3 separate regions of the Homo sapiens genome follow, and regions 1 and 2 are each linked to region 3. Evidence: promoter capture Hi-C in human tissues and cell types (Jung and others, 2019). All regions are on one chromosome and are shown on one strand. Each heading gives the region's core, a stretch centred on a gene start or on the middle of the fragment in contact. The rest is flanking DNA. Distances are from core to core; before and after follow the strand shown. Region 1 overlaps BARD1 (BRCA1 associated RING domain 1). Region 2 overlaps SNHG31 (small nucleolar RNA host gene 31). Region 3 holds the start of ABCA12 (ATP binding cassette subfamily A member 12).

Region 1 (4,573 bases), core at 1,988-4,487, 410 kb after region 3:
TGATAGTATTTACAGGTGTAAAATAAACTTATATACAATCAAATAAATTCTACTCAGGTTCTACTCAATTTAAACCCAGAGAAGTAACAATGGAACAACTTATTCCATATTTTCTTAATGATGTTCTACTTTTTCTTTCCATATTTAATATTGTGATTTCGTATTTGTTTAACAAGAGCTATAAATGGCTAAAACTCTGGCTGTGTATTATTTCCTGCTTTATTAGTATTTTTGAATACCACTTCACTAATACATGTAAATCATTAATACTTCCAGCATATTTTTTTAATATTTAAAATATATTGGTCCTCCATTATTTTCAGAAACAACTTTGCATTCAAACATTTTATTCAAAAAACCTATTATCTTTGCTTTTAACATTGAAATACATGCAAAATATAAAAGAATATTTTATTATCTTTCTGGCAAGCAAATCTGCTCCCACATTTGTTATTCTTTGAAAGGTTAGCCATTTTAAGTAGGAAAAGAGGGAAAAGCTGAATCTGAAAAACGAATCTTCTCATGTTTGTCTATGTATAAGCTATTAACCTTTTTTCTTTCACTGACTTTGTAACAGAAGTTTACGTAATGTGAAGTTCTTAGGATTTCTGGACAAGAGTAGGGAGTTTTCTTGTTATTAGATATACCATGATTGAGATTATCTCAGTGGCATCCTTAATATCTTTAAAACATGGATGTAATTTTAAATGTGCTTGAAAAATTAAATTTGATAGTGGATTGCTTGTTGACAGAGGAAAATAAAGCAATAAAATTTCATTTAAAATTAAGCACTCTGAGATAGAGCATACAATATTAATGAAAGTTCAGGATTAGATTATTGAAATAAAGTGACAGGAAACAGCAGGAATTTTCTTCTTAGGGAAGAGATTATGACTTCTCTTGTACATGATAGGTGTTTAACACAGTTTGAGCATTCCTAATCTGAAAATCCAAAATGCTGTAAAATACTAAACTATTTGAGTGCCAGCACAACACACACGACCTAACATGATGGCTCACAGTCTAAACGCAGACACAACTTTATGCACAAAATTATTAAAGATAGTATATAAAATTATCTTCATATATGCTTTATCTGTATAAAGCGTATATGAAACATAAATGAATTTCTTTTTTAGACTTGGGTCTTGTTGCCAAGATATACCTAATTATGTACGTGCAAATATTCCAAAATCCAAAACAAAATTGAATTTTAAAACACTTGTGGTTTCAAACACTTCAGATAAGGGATACTTGGCCTATAAATATGATATAGGAAGAGCGCCGAAGTGGAAGTCTGTTGCTTTAGGAAGTGGTTCACTTTAACTTTGCTATTAGTGATCTTAGCAAGTCACTTTATGTTTCTGCACTTGACTGTGCAGATCTTTAAAACAAGAAGGTAGGACTAGCTCTTCAGGGTCTTTTCTACCTCGTAAGTTATTTGATTCTAGGTATTTTCAAAATTCAAGTTACAAGATTAGAATAAATAAAACATTTTATAAAGAGGACTCAAACACATTTTTTTTCCCTCAGAAAGTACCAGTTTTTTCAGTTCTGTCGCTTACTCCAAATTCTGCAGATGTGGCTCCTGGAAACAGTTGAAGTTTTGTTATTGTGTCAGTGTGGGGTAATAAAGAAGAAAGTTTAAAACCGATTATGCCATAAAGTCTGAGTTAGTCTAAAGTGGACCATTACTCACTCTTGGAAAACATTGCATTTCTTTTTCTTCTCCAGTATAAGTTTTTGCTCTCAAGATAATCATTATAGGTCAGCAAGGTGTGGTGGTTCACGCCTGTAATCCCAGCACTTTGGGAGGCTGAGGTGTGCAGATCACGAGGTCAGGAGATCGAGACCATCCTGGCTAACGCGATGAAAGCCTGTCTCTACTAAAAGTACAAAAAATTAGCCAGACATGGTGGCGGGCGCCTGTAGTCCCAGCTACTTGGGAGGCTGAGGCAGGAGAAAGGTGTGAACCCAGGAGGCGGAGCTTGCAGTGAGCCGAGATTGCGCCACTGCGCCCCAACCTGGGTGACAGTGCAAGACTCTGTCTCAGAAAAAAAAAAAAAAGAAAAAAAAATCATCATAGGTCAAAAGACATTTTACTCATACACAACTGAATCTTAATTTATATTAGATGCAATCGCAGGACAGTTCTGGGTAGCAGATTAACTGTTGGTTCTTAGCCACCCTTTAGTCAAGAAAGGAGCCCTTTTGCAGGCATATGCAGTTTACATGCCGAGTAGTGGTTCTGCTCCTGTGTTGGAATCAATTTACTGTTGAAGTAAGTAGGGATCAGCTGGACAAAACTTTATCACTAGCATTTTTCAAGAGGTTTCCAAAACACTGTAGTATATCCAACATATATGTCTAATCCTCAATATAAAGTATATGTTTATGCAGCCATAGATTTTTTTCTGATCATTTTAAGCCATTAGATATCAAGTGATAACAGGATGTAACAGTTTGATATTCAAAACTATGTGTAACTCTGAACTCTTACAGGTGCTATATAATTACTTATTTTTATTGATGTGGATACAATCTGTCAATGCTGTGTCCATAGTGAATTTTTAAAAACTTTTGTTCCTTTATGTTAACAACACTAGACAGTGAAGGGGATACCTGAGTTATTGTTCCAACTTTCCCGATACCCTCTGCTATTAAACTCCTGTTCTATGGGAAAGTGTATGAAATTCTGAAGAACGCATAGGTGAATAATATATGGTTCCTACCCTCAGTGATAAAATGAAGTATTGAGCAAAACAACCTCAAAGACAAATAGGAAATTGTATGGAGGGTTTGTTTTTATGATGAAGATAATTCATTGTAGTATCTAGTTTTTAGAATGCTTCTTGCATTTTATCCACAGAAGCCCGGTGAAAAACATTGTTTTCATTTTTTATTTCCATAGGCAAGGAAGCTTCCAGAACAAGTAATTGGGATAGCCAAGTCCTTCAACTGCAAATCTCAAATTTAGTTTAGTTATATGCCATCAGAACAGAAGCATGATAAATATATATACATGCCATCAGTTCCCTCGCTTGGTGGTAAACAGGCATTATCCAAGATGTTGTCTCTAGCTGAAGCTGACCATGTCCTTCATGATTGGTCCTGGGAATCCCAAGGGTTCCTTTCATTTCTAGAGCCTAGCGAGACAATTGGTACTGGCTGCCAGCCAGTGGCCCTACTTAGGGATTCCCCACCCAGGTGCCAAGCAGTGGAATGACTCTAAACAGTGCCAGGCTGAGCTGTCTCTATTGCTTTTGCTTTTTAACCTGAAGCTGTGAACAGACTTACTCAAGCCATCAAAAGAATGCTTTTTTTTTTCCTGCAAAGCCCAATCAAATCATCTCTAGACTAGCAACCTCAGTTGTGTACCTGTCACATGCCAAACCTATCCCAAGCTCTGCTTGTTTATTTTAGGAAGCGCTGTTGAACCCCTGTTGTGTGGCTAGCTGAGCTTGGTGCTGTAGACTAAAGCACATTCCTTCATGTCAAATCACTTACAGTTTAACAGACGATTAGACATATAACTGTCAAAATGAGCAGTATAGATGGTAAGTGCTCAGTTTAGGTTATTGTGTCATGGACTTTTTATTCACCTTAATTTTGGGTAATTGCTATGAGTGGAAATGTAGACTTTTATTTTTGTCTTTGAAATAGTATCCTGGCTTAGGTTTTTCAGAAAGGAGATTAAAATTACAGTTAGTGTTCAGTACTAACTTATGGCTTAATCCTCCAAAGAAAGAGTTTTTTAAAATATTTTCTTTATATGGGAAAACCAGTTGTATTACATTTTGTTTTGGCATAAGTAAGATTTCTGTTTGCATTTTAGAATAATACTTAAAAACTGCCATGAAGAAGAAAAACCACTTAGGTAAATTGCTTGATTTTAATGAGAGAGATATAGTGCTCACTTGATACTTAGTTTGCTTTAATTCTTGTGTTTTTGTCAGGGGTAAAAGCATGTCTACGAAGAAAAGTATGTGAACAGGAAGAAAAGTATGAAATTCCTGAAGGTCCACGCAGAAGCAGGCTCAACAGAGAACAGCTGGTATTTTTCTTTTAATACAACTTTCATTGTTCTTATTATGACATACTATTATTATCACCATCAGGAAGAACTTCTGCCCTTTCAACAGCTACAGGTGACTGATTAAAATTTTAATTGTGCTTATTTCAAGCACTTGATTCTGAAAGATGATCACGATGAGCAGTAAAATCCAGAAGGTAATAATTTCATACTGTTAATGGATTTTTGGCATCTTGAACATTGCCATAAACCTTTCAGAATCTGAGGTAAATCTCAGATACAGGAAGTAGCTTGAAAGAAGACTTACAGCTGCTGCTTGGATTTAGTTACCATATGTCTCTATGGCCACATATTGTAGCTTTAATGGATAATATCGCATTATCCTGTTGATATTATATAAGTATATTAGAAGTCACAAAGAAAATTTCCATAGAAGGGAATTATGAAACTTTTTTTATTTCCAACGAGCATACGGAAGTATGTTTCATAGCTAATTGGATCCCTAGCCTCAGCACAAAAATCTTTTGTGCCCCGTGAATA
Region 2 (5,037 bases), core at 53-2,552, 320 kb after region 3:
TATTCATCTATGTCTGGAATAAACAATCAACAAAAGAATATATTAAGCCCTAATTAAGCCTTACACAGATATTCCTGTTGTAAATACTCTCACTGTGGCTGATTTCAAGCTACCAAAGTGATGTCACTGAATGTGAAGTTGATAAGATGTGCAAGAGCACACTATCATATACTATAGCATTTCTACTATAGGGATAGAAAAAAATGTAAATAACTTCAAGAGCATAGATAATAAGTAAATGCAGTAAAATATTTAGGAAGTGAGTTTTTAATATTACCTTTGTTTTTAAAAAGTTATTCTAAGTTCACATAATATAATTTTAAATAATGACAACATTTAACAAACAGCTGGCAAAACTCCTAAAAATTCCTGAAAATTTAATAAATGGCTCTTGTGAGCCTAAACATGCCAGCTAGCACACACCACTGGTGGATGGCAAAGCTATATAAATGTGGGTTGTTATTAATAATGTGACTTAATATTTACTCCCTGGCTCAAGTTGCCCTGAAAGGCAAGCTTTTAAAAAAATATTTCAGGGCTTTAATTTTAGTCTATTTGCTTGGTCGCAATGGGGCTTTTCTTTGAATAGCTAAGCACCATATTTCCAAATCTCTTAGGGTGGCATATATGAACAGATAAAAATCTCAGCCATTATTTATTGATAGCTGCTAGCTTCCCTCTCAGAAAGTGACTTTTCACTGATCCTTCCCCAAATTCTAGGAGTTCGTTATTACATTTAGCTGTGTACTAACTATAATCACTACTATATAATAGGTATTAGGTTGAGCCAGATGAAATTGCTGTTGTCTGACCATTTTTGACCTACAAAACCAGTAATTTTATATGCTTCAATCAACACTTTTGCTCTAGTCAAGCTGGTAGTGATGTTCCCCTATCATTTGTGTGTCTGCATTCCTATGATTTTGCCCATCTAAAATAATTTTCCTCCTCCCTTCTACTACTCAAACCTAAGACTTAACTCCCACTTTCACCTCTCCCACAGATATCCATGATCGTTCCAATCTTCATTAAGCAACTGTAAGGATTCTCTCCCATGACCTTTTGTGATACTTTATGTGGATCACAGAATTGAACACTTAATTATAATGTCTCATATTATTTATATTGTGTCTTGCATAGTCTTAATAACTAGGAACTAAATTCTCTGAGAGGAAAGACTATAACAAACTTTTTCTGTAAGTAACAATGTATAATTGTGCTGAAAATGGGTATGAACTCGTATTTCAACTGATTGGGATTTAAATAATATCCTTTTCTGAAGTTGAACGTAATTAAAACTAGGTTATGTGCTACTTATGTGCTTGGGCTTTGGAGTCAGGCAAACCTGGAACTATTTCCTTGCTCTGCTATCTGTAAGCTATATGTTTTTAGGAAAGTCACTAAATAGCTTGAAGTCCCTTTTCCTCTTCTGTCAAACGGGGTAATGGTGTCTATACTACTGGGTGATTGTTAGGATTATATGATGAATCTGGATTATACAGACTTTTTTCTAGAAAATATAACCAAAGCAATATATTTTTCTCAATGATGTGAGTAAAATCAGGGAAGGAAAGATGATCATGGTGTTTGGTTTAAGAATAAAGAGAACACAACATTATATTTATTTTTATGATTGTATTTTTTGGTTTGACTCGGCTTCCAAATTTCCCAAATTAATACCTAAAAATGGTATGTGTGTATTGTGTGTGTGTATACCTATACTGTATTAGTCTGTTCTCAAGCTGTTAATAAAGACATACCCAAGACTGGGTAATTTATGAAGGAAAGAGGTCTAACTGACTCACAGTTCCACACGGCTGGGGAGGCCTCACAATCATGGCGGAAGGTGAATGAGGAGCAAGGTCACTTCTTACATGGCAGCAGGCAAGAAAGCTTGTGTGGAGGAATGCCCGTTTATAAAACCATCAGATCTCATGAGACTTATTCACTATCACAAGAACAGTATGGGGGAAGCCACCCCCATGATTCAATTATCTCCACCTGTCCCCACCTTTGGCACATGGGTATTATTACAATTCAAGGTGAGGTTTGGGTGGGGACACAGCCAAACCATATCATATACACATACATATATACACACACACTTATATATACATATATACACACACATACATATATATACACACATGCTCTTATTACCTAAAAAAAATTCTGATCAATTTATTATTCTTGAACCTAGAGTTTTTTGTACAGTGGTAAATGCTAGCATTTATTAGGAACTTAATATGTTCCAAGCACTTTTCTAAGTGTATTAGCTTATTTTATCCATATAATAGCAGTAAAGTATTTTCTGTTATCCCTACTTTACAGATGAAAAAATATATAAGCTATATTTTGAGATAGTGAGAAAAGTAACTAAAGGCATGAGCGAAATTTAATAGACTATGTCTGATAATTGTAACTAAATTTTAAGTCAGCGTTCTAAATTCTAAATATATTGCTGAAGGGCTCTTAAGGATTATTAACAATAAGAGTAAAATGAGTCCAATATGAACAAGGCATAATTTCTAAAAGAATATATATGGATGAAGAAAAATTAAGCTGAAATGCATGTTGTAATTGATCATTGCTTTTACAGATAATGGTATATAGTCATTCTTTTTTTTTTATTCCCATATTTATTGAACACAAATTGTATATGAGGCATATTTAAATATATTGGTTACTTCTCACTTGTGCTTTGAATGAAATTTAAATTATTGCATGAATTTTGATTAAACTGATTACAGAATTTTGAAACACAATGGAACCCAAACTAGGGCCAATGCTCATTTCCTAAATGAACATTTTATGTGCAAACAAACAGCTGCTAGAATCCAACAGAATTTAAAACAAGCTGTTTGTAAATTTTACTGACAGCTGTTTTTGGTGATTTTTGTCAACAGAATTTTCCTGCTTTGCATCACAGCATCCTTTTATTATAGTATCCCCTCAAAGTATAACTTGCTTGCTTTAATCACGTTTACAGAGATTTATGACTTGATGCTTATTCAGTGGTAGAGCTTCTCAACACAAAATGTCAGTGAGCCTGTTATAAATTGCTTCTGGCATTCCTACTCTATCTTTTATTTGGCTGGGAGTATTTCCACCTGAAAGTGATAAATTCCTGTTATAACCACTTTATGTGCTTCAGTAATTACACTGTACAGAAAAAGAGGATTTCTACTGAGGTGTCTCCTTAAAAATAGCAAGCAATAAAAGGCAGTGGAATGGGCTGAACTCTGAAGTCTATTGAACAAAAAACAATGACCAGTGAAATATGTGTGTCAGACTGAATTTGATAAATGATCAGGAAGTACAGAAGATACCAAAACCTTTAAAACAACTACTGTGGGGTCATAGTAATGTAACTATGTCCTTAGACTAGTTACTTTTAAGCCTGTGACAGAAATTTGGCAGGTGCCCACAAGAATGGAGTTAACATCCTTTCAAAAACAATCTTAAAATATCTAGATGCTTCTAGAGACTTGGGTAATTCTAAACTAAATGCCAAGGTGTACATGACATAGGGACTGAGTTGGTATGTACTAGTCAAAGAGACTGTGGCATGCTAAAACGGTTCAGTACAGTACACTGCAGCCAATAACTTGATCAATACATATACACACAATTGAACTGATTGAAATACACATTAATCATGATATTCATGGGTGGTTTGTTTGCTTCATATATGCTGTCTCTAGTACGTAGGACAAAATTACTGTTTTTAATTGCTTAGGCTTTTTTTTGTTCTTAAATGAGCAACAAAATGATGTAAATAAAAGATGTTTAAGTTAATGAAACAAAATTATAAACATTTTCATTGTCACGTCCTAATATTATGCCAACGATGGTGTTAGGAATCAGGTGGATACTTTATCTGAGATGATACTAAAAGAGACTATAATCAGTAAATAGGATTTAAGCTTCCTTTCCAGGTGATTGCATTATATTTGCATAGGAATTGCTACTGCAAGTATCTCTGTTCCAATAGCCACAGAATAAGTGGTTCTTTGCTTAGAATATGTACTCTTTCATAGGAGAAATCATAAGCCAGTGTAGCTGGCTTCATGCAACTCAACAATGCCAGTCCTAACAATGGAAAAATATGTTGTGCACTTATTGTGTTTTAAGCTTTAATATATATATTAAAGTTTAGGACAGTCCATTGCAAAGGGATGTCCATTGGTTGTGCTGCACTTCTGGTTTAGGACAGTTTCATAAACTGTAATTCCTTTCTCACCACAACCCTTTGAGTATGAGATTGACATATATTAACCCTAAATTTACAAAAGATGAAACTAAGTTCCAAGATGGGTTACACAATGGACAAAATTGTAGGAAATGTCAAGGCTAGGTTTATAATTCAGTTCTGCTTGACTCCAGATCACCGTGTACTTAATCATTACGCCACATTGAATTTCAGAAAAAAAAACAGCACAAAGCATATGACTTTACCTTAATAGCATCATATAAAGGCAAGCTCAGTCAAATGTGCACAGCACACACCACAGTCCTAGATGCTGGGATGGTCTGCTCTATTCCATCAATTACCATATTCAATTGCTCCTTATCAAATGTTTCAAACTACATTTTTTTGTGGGGGGACTACACTTCATAGAGGGGTGCTTGCAAACAAAATTTGTATCTGACAAAAAGAATGCTCTCAGGAAGTCGAAGTGGCCTTTTCCAGTGCATAATACCATAATTAAAAATCAGAGAAGAATTAATATAAAGGTAAGAATTTGTGAGATATCTTTACACTCCTTGGGAGTAGAGTCTGGGTATTATGGATATCCCATTTTGCTTGTTATATATGTTTATCCAAGTGAATATGAGGAAGATTTACCTCTTTGTAAAACACTTCATAACACAACAGAAGAGAAAACAGCATTTTGACTGTTTTCAACAAACCATTATATAAGCCTGAAGATCAGAAAAGAATTCAAGGCTGGAGATGCCTTCATAGCATGGTAACACTACAGAGGGTAACTGAAGCAGTCGGGGGGATGAGGGTTTAAGTGGGCCTGGAGAGAG
Region 3 (4,587 bases), core at 421-2,920:
GAATTCCTGGAGCAACTACTCTTTGTGAACTCATTTTGGCCATAATTTTTCATGCGTGTACTTACAAAAAAATCTCTACAAGTGATTTATAGACCTGCCTAGAGAAACAGGGAAAATCCCTGATGTTCATTTGTTTCTCAGCTCTTCCTGTGAAGTGTAATACATGGGACTGGAGAAAACATAGCACAGAGATTAACAGTACAGAAACGAGGTTCGAGTTCCTTCTCTGCTGTTCCCACTGTCCTCACTGCTAACTAGGTGAAATCCAGCAAGTTATGGCACTTCTAAATATCACTTTCTTTCACTGAAAATGGGAATAATGACAGTTTCTATATAATAGGACTCCTAGGATGATTCAATAAGTCCTTAGCAAACATTGCTACCCAATTAATAGAATTAATTGACTACTTACTATGAGGCAGGACCTGTGCTAGATTCCTTTTTTTGGAGGGGGGATGGAATCTCACTCTTTTGCCCAGGCTGGAGTGCAGTGGCGCCATCTCAGCTCACTGCAACCTCTGCCTCCCGGTTTCAAGCGATTCTCCCTCCTCAGCCTCCCAAATAGCTGGGATTACAGGTGCCCACCACCATGCCTGGCTAATTTTTGTGTTTTTAGTAGAGACGGGGTTTCACCATGTTTGCGAGGCTGGTCTTGAACTCCTGACCTCAAGTGATCAGCCCGTCTCGGCCTCCCAAATTGCTGGGATTACAGGCATGAGCCACCGCACCTGGCGAAGGGAGAACTCTTAATGCTTTAACGGATTTTGCAAGTAAAGTCTGGATTAGTCAGGGTAGGTGTGAGGATCAAAGGGGAGCTTCACCCTACTAGCCTTGGCTCCAGTAGTTTATTCAATTACATTCAGCAGCAAGTATTGAACACTAATGATATGTAAAGTACTGTGATATAAAATAGTCCATGTCCTCAAATAATTTATAATCTTGTAGGAAAAATAAGACATACACAAATAAAAATAATGCAAAAACTTTAAGTTCCTTGAGAGAGGGCAACAAAGAATGATTCAAAGGCAAGAGAATCTATCCTATGGGATATATCCAAAAAGGCTTCATTGAAGATGTCAACTTGGGGATAACTTTGAAAGGCAGGATCTTAGAGAGGGAGGAATGTATCATGGAAAGAGGAAATAGAAATGTCTTGGATCAGCCTGTGTCCCCTTTCACTATAAGAGCCTGAAACAATGTGGCTTGTCTGTAATAGACACGTGAATCTCCACTCACGAATTGAGGGACTCCAGTTTGTAATTTATGTCCCCTACAGCCTACCTTTCCTTTTCTGCCCTGTGCTTAACCTAGTACATTGTGATGAAAGGTGGGACCTGGCCAACATAGTTTCTTCCCCCAAAATCGAAACATTCAACTTTAGGTTAAAGGTGGACACTTTCCCTAGTATATCTAATGATGGGCTGAGGCTCAGAGCTTTGCAGCTAAGCTCTGGCCTTATTGACTTAAATCATTTTAATGACACTTTAATATTAAAGAGTCACTGGGCCCAGTGTCTGTGAAATGCTCTCTGTGCCCTGCCTCTGCTAGAGCAGACACTGTGTGCAGGAAAGAAGACAAGAGAATGTAGGACAAGTCCTACTGGCCTTGCAAAGGTCCCACCCCCTAGTCCCTGTGACGCATCCAGTGCAGGTGACATGTTCTCTAAGGTGTGGATAGGCAATTAATTTCATGGAGAGTAGGAGGTGTGGGTTCAGCTGCTGCTTTTTTTTTTTTTTCAGTGAGGCATTATCTGAATGATGCTCATTCTCTCTTGAGTCTGGACTTCGTGCAACAAGCAGCAACTGGATATTATTTTAAAATAAGCATAAGCCACCCAAAGATACTGATCTGGGTCCTTCTTTTGGAAGAAGAGTTGATTGAGAAGTGCCTCTTGGTTAAGGATTAACCACAGGGAAAAATCCAGCAGAAACAGAAGAACTGTGGGTTTCTTACCCCAGCCCTCAAGGAAGCTATGCCGTGAAAGGGGTACTGATACACTGACATACAGCAAGTTGGACGGGGCATCAGTTCTTCATTTGTGGAGTGGAGAAAAGAAGAGGAAATCTCTCATTTGGGGCATTTGAAGGATGGCTTCCCTGTTTCATCAGCTTCAGATCCTGGTCTGGAAAAATTGGCTAGGTGTAAAAAGGCAGCCGGTGAGTTAAAAAAAAGTGTGGGAGTATGGGTCATGGGGCAATACGCCAGGTAATCCTAAAATGTGATCTTAATGAGAAGTGAAAACAGAAGAGTTTAAAGGCATTTTCCAAAGCAGGAAGTAAGATATTTAGAATTCATCCCCCTATCTGTCTTATAGCTAATGGAGCGAGTCTTAACATGCCCCCAAAAGCAGCCTTTTCATTTCAGTAAATTAAAGAGTAAACCAGGACATGCCCTGGGCAAAAAAAAAAGAACATGACTCATTACTGGCTGAACTGGAACGTTGAATTCTGGTTTCAAGCCAAAAGGCTTTCAGAATTTTTCTTAATGTAGTTAAAAATGGGATAGAGGAAAGAAAAGTATTATTTGAAATGTACAATAAATGGGAAGAAATATACTGGAAAACTGAAAGCCATAGAAAGTTTGGTTGAAAGGTAAAATACAGAACAGAAATAGTTTGAAGGCTATTAGTATAGAAAAGCTACTGAGAAATTTTAGTATCTAAAAATCATTTACTGGGAATACCAAACAAGAGTATGTATATGTGCTATGTTTTAAGAATATTATTGAATCACTTAGCTTTACTACTACAATCTATCTTCTCTTGCTCATTGCAACGTCTTTTTTGTACTCTTACATTAATGTTTGCGTTCTAATTACAAAGTTAGCTATTAGATCCTCATCAGATGGCTCCCAGGATGATTGAGAAAGGAATTGGTTTCTGGGAGTTGTTATATATTCAGAAGAATGTTTGAAAATCGGGGAAATCCAAAAAGGTATTCAATATACTTTATTTTAAAGTGGTAATTCCCAGCCTTGAATGAGTAATGTAAATATTATGCAAATAATATGCATCACACAGAAACCAGCACTTTATCTATGCACCTTATCTCGCTCCAGGCTTGCTTGGATTGCCTGACACTTTACTTGAGTGTTTTGATGTGTGTAGTAAGAGGAGGAAGTAGATGTTCATTTACCCTTGTGAATTTTGTGGGTAGGGTTTTAAAATTCTAAGGCATGTGATTGCATGGGTGTGGGGTTTGAATATAAAATTATAAACTCATTCATGTTTTTATTTGTTTTTTAACTGGAAAAAAAAAAGCACAGAAGAAAACCTCCCCATAATTATCATGTGGTTGATTCTGTGTGGCATAAGCAGGGAAAGGATCCTGGGTGTGTGGATGTGGTCATGTGGTCAGAGCATGCGAGTTGGGGCCCCTGCCACTGCTCCTCATGTAACTTAAGTAGCTTAAGACAGTTTCTCTAAGCACTGTTTTTCCCACCATGATGTGGCATGATGAGTTAGACGTGACATGATTAGTTAGATGTGGCATGAAGCCTGCCACATCTAACTCATTGGGGGAAGTACCAAATGTGCTAATGTATTTCAAAGTGCTTTATAATACTGACACACTTAGCAAATAGATTAGTGAGGGATTTGAGGCAATGTGTGTCATATTTTATGCAGATTAATAATGAAAGGAAATTCAGGAGAAGATACTGTGGGTAAAAGGAAGAAATCCACGTACAGTCAAGTTTGTAAGTGATAAAAATTCAATAGCTAAAAACAAAAACACAGAGGAACTAAAATCTGTACGTGTTATTGTCAATAATCTGAATGCTGAGGTCTGTTTCTTTTACAACTCTATTTTGTGTAAAAAAAGTTATAGGAAAAAAAAACACCCAAATCTCAGGTGAAGATGTTTGTTTTTCATTGAGAAATTTTATCTTTAGAAATTTTAATGACAAATTTTTTTCCTCATTTTGAAAGTAGTAGGTATATCAATTTTCTCCTTTGGGGTTTCTCTTCATTTTAGTCAGTGTTTGTGGACATGGTGAAATATTTAGGGGAGATGTAAGTCAGATATTAAAAGTTTTTCAAGCATGACACCTTGCATTATTCCCATCTAGTCAAAACCCCTAAATAAACTCTGGTAACTATACTTTTCCTAGGGAGGGAGAATACATGAGCCATTAGTTCATTTTGGGACAGGGAATGATTCAGATCTTAAGTGCACCTTAAACAAATGGAAACCAGAACAGATAAGTCTTCACGGCAGAGTGAGGTCAGAGAAAGTCCAAAATTTGGGACAATACAGAGGCCAACCTGAATCCATTATAACCAACCAGAGGGACAAGAGAGACCTGTAGAAGATGGTGATGCAAAAGGAAAAGGAAGGACAATTCTGAGTGGAGGGGGAAAGGGCAAAGAAAGAGAAATTTCCTTCACAGTTTCGCCTAGGGTCAGCTCTGTCTCTCCATGTTGGGAAAAAGACTTGAAGACACGTGTGGGAAGGATATATGTGCGATGGCATTACACTTAAAAAGGAAGAGAGGAATAAGAGGTTGGAAAGTTGGAATTAAAGATCTAAAGGGGGATAAAATGAAAAAAATTGTCTAAAGAGAAATTATAGGCAAATTAGAAGACAG

The links. Contacts are between HindIII fragments. The study calls those that stand out against the background at their distance.
Region 1: a contact is called between a fragment that was not itself captured here and the fragment with the promoter of ABCA12 in region 3, in 1 of the 25 tissues and cell types used here (dorsolateral prefrontal cortex).
Region 2: a fragment that was not itself captured here is called in contact with the fragment with the promoter of ABCA12 in region 3 in 1 of the 25 tissues and cell types used here (adrenal gland).

What each region holds. Positions count from the first base shown.
Region 1 is chr2:214,729,892-214,734,464 of GRCh38, reverse strand. BARD1 (BRCA1 associated RING domain 1) reads left to right here. Exons shown (of 11, transcript NM_000465.4): 10 at 3,957-4,054. Among named protein-coding and RNA genes, the nearest start is that of BARD1, 78 kb to the left of the region's middle. The HindIII fragment of the contact is 4,235 bases long and covers 1,120-4,573 here.
Region 2 is chr2:214,814,344-214,819,380 of GRCh38, reverse strand. The region is part of intron 1 of SNHG31 (small nucleolar RNA host gene 31); the gene reads right to left. Among named protein-coding and RNA genes, the nearest start is that of SNHG31, 6.6 kb to the right of the region's middle. The HindIII fragment of the contact is 3,216 bases long and covers 1-2,910 here.
Region 3 is chr2:215,135,709-215,140,295 of GRCh38, reverse strand. ABCA12 (ATP binding cassette subfamily A member 12) reads left to right here and starts at 1,670. Exons shown (of 53, transcript NM_173076.3): 1 at 1,670-2,156. The coding sequence starts at 2,088. The HindIII fragment of the contact is 12,690 bases long and covers 1-4,587 here.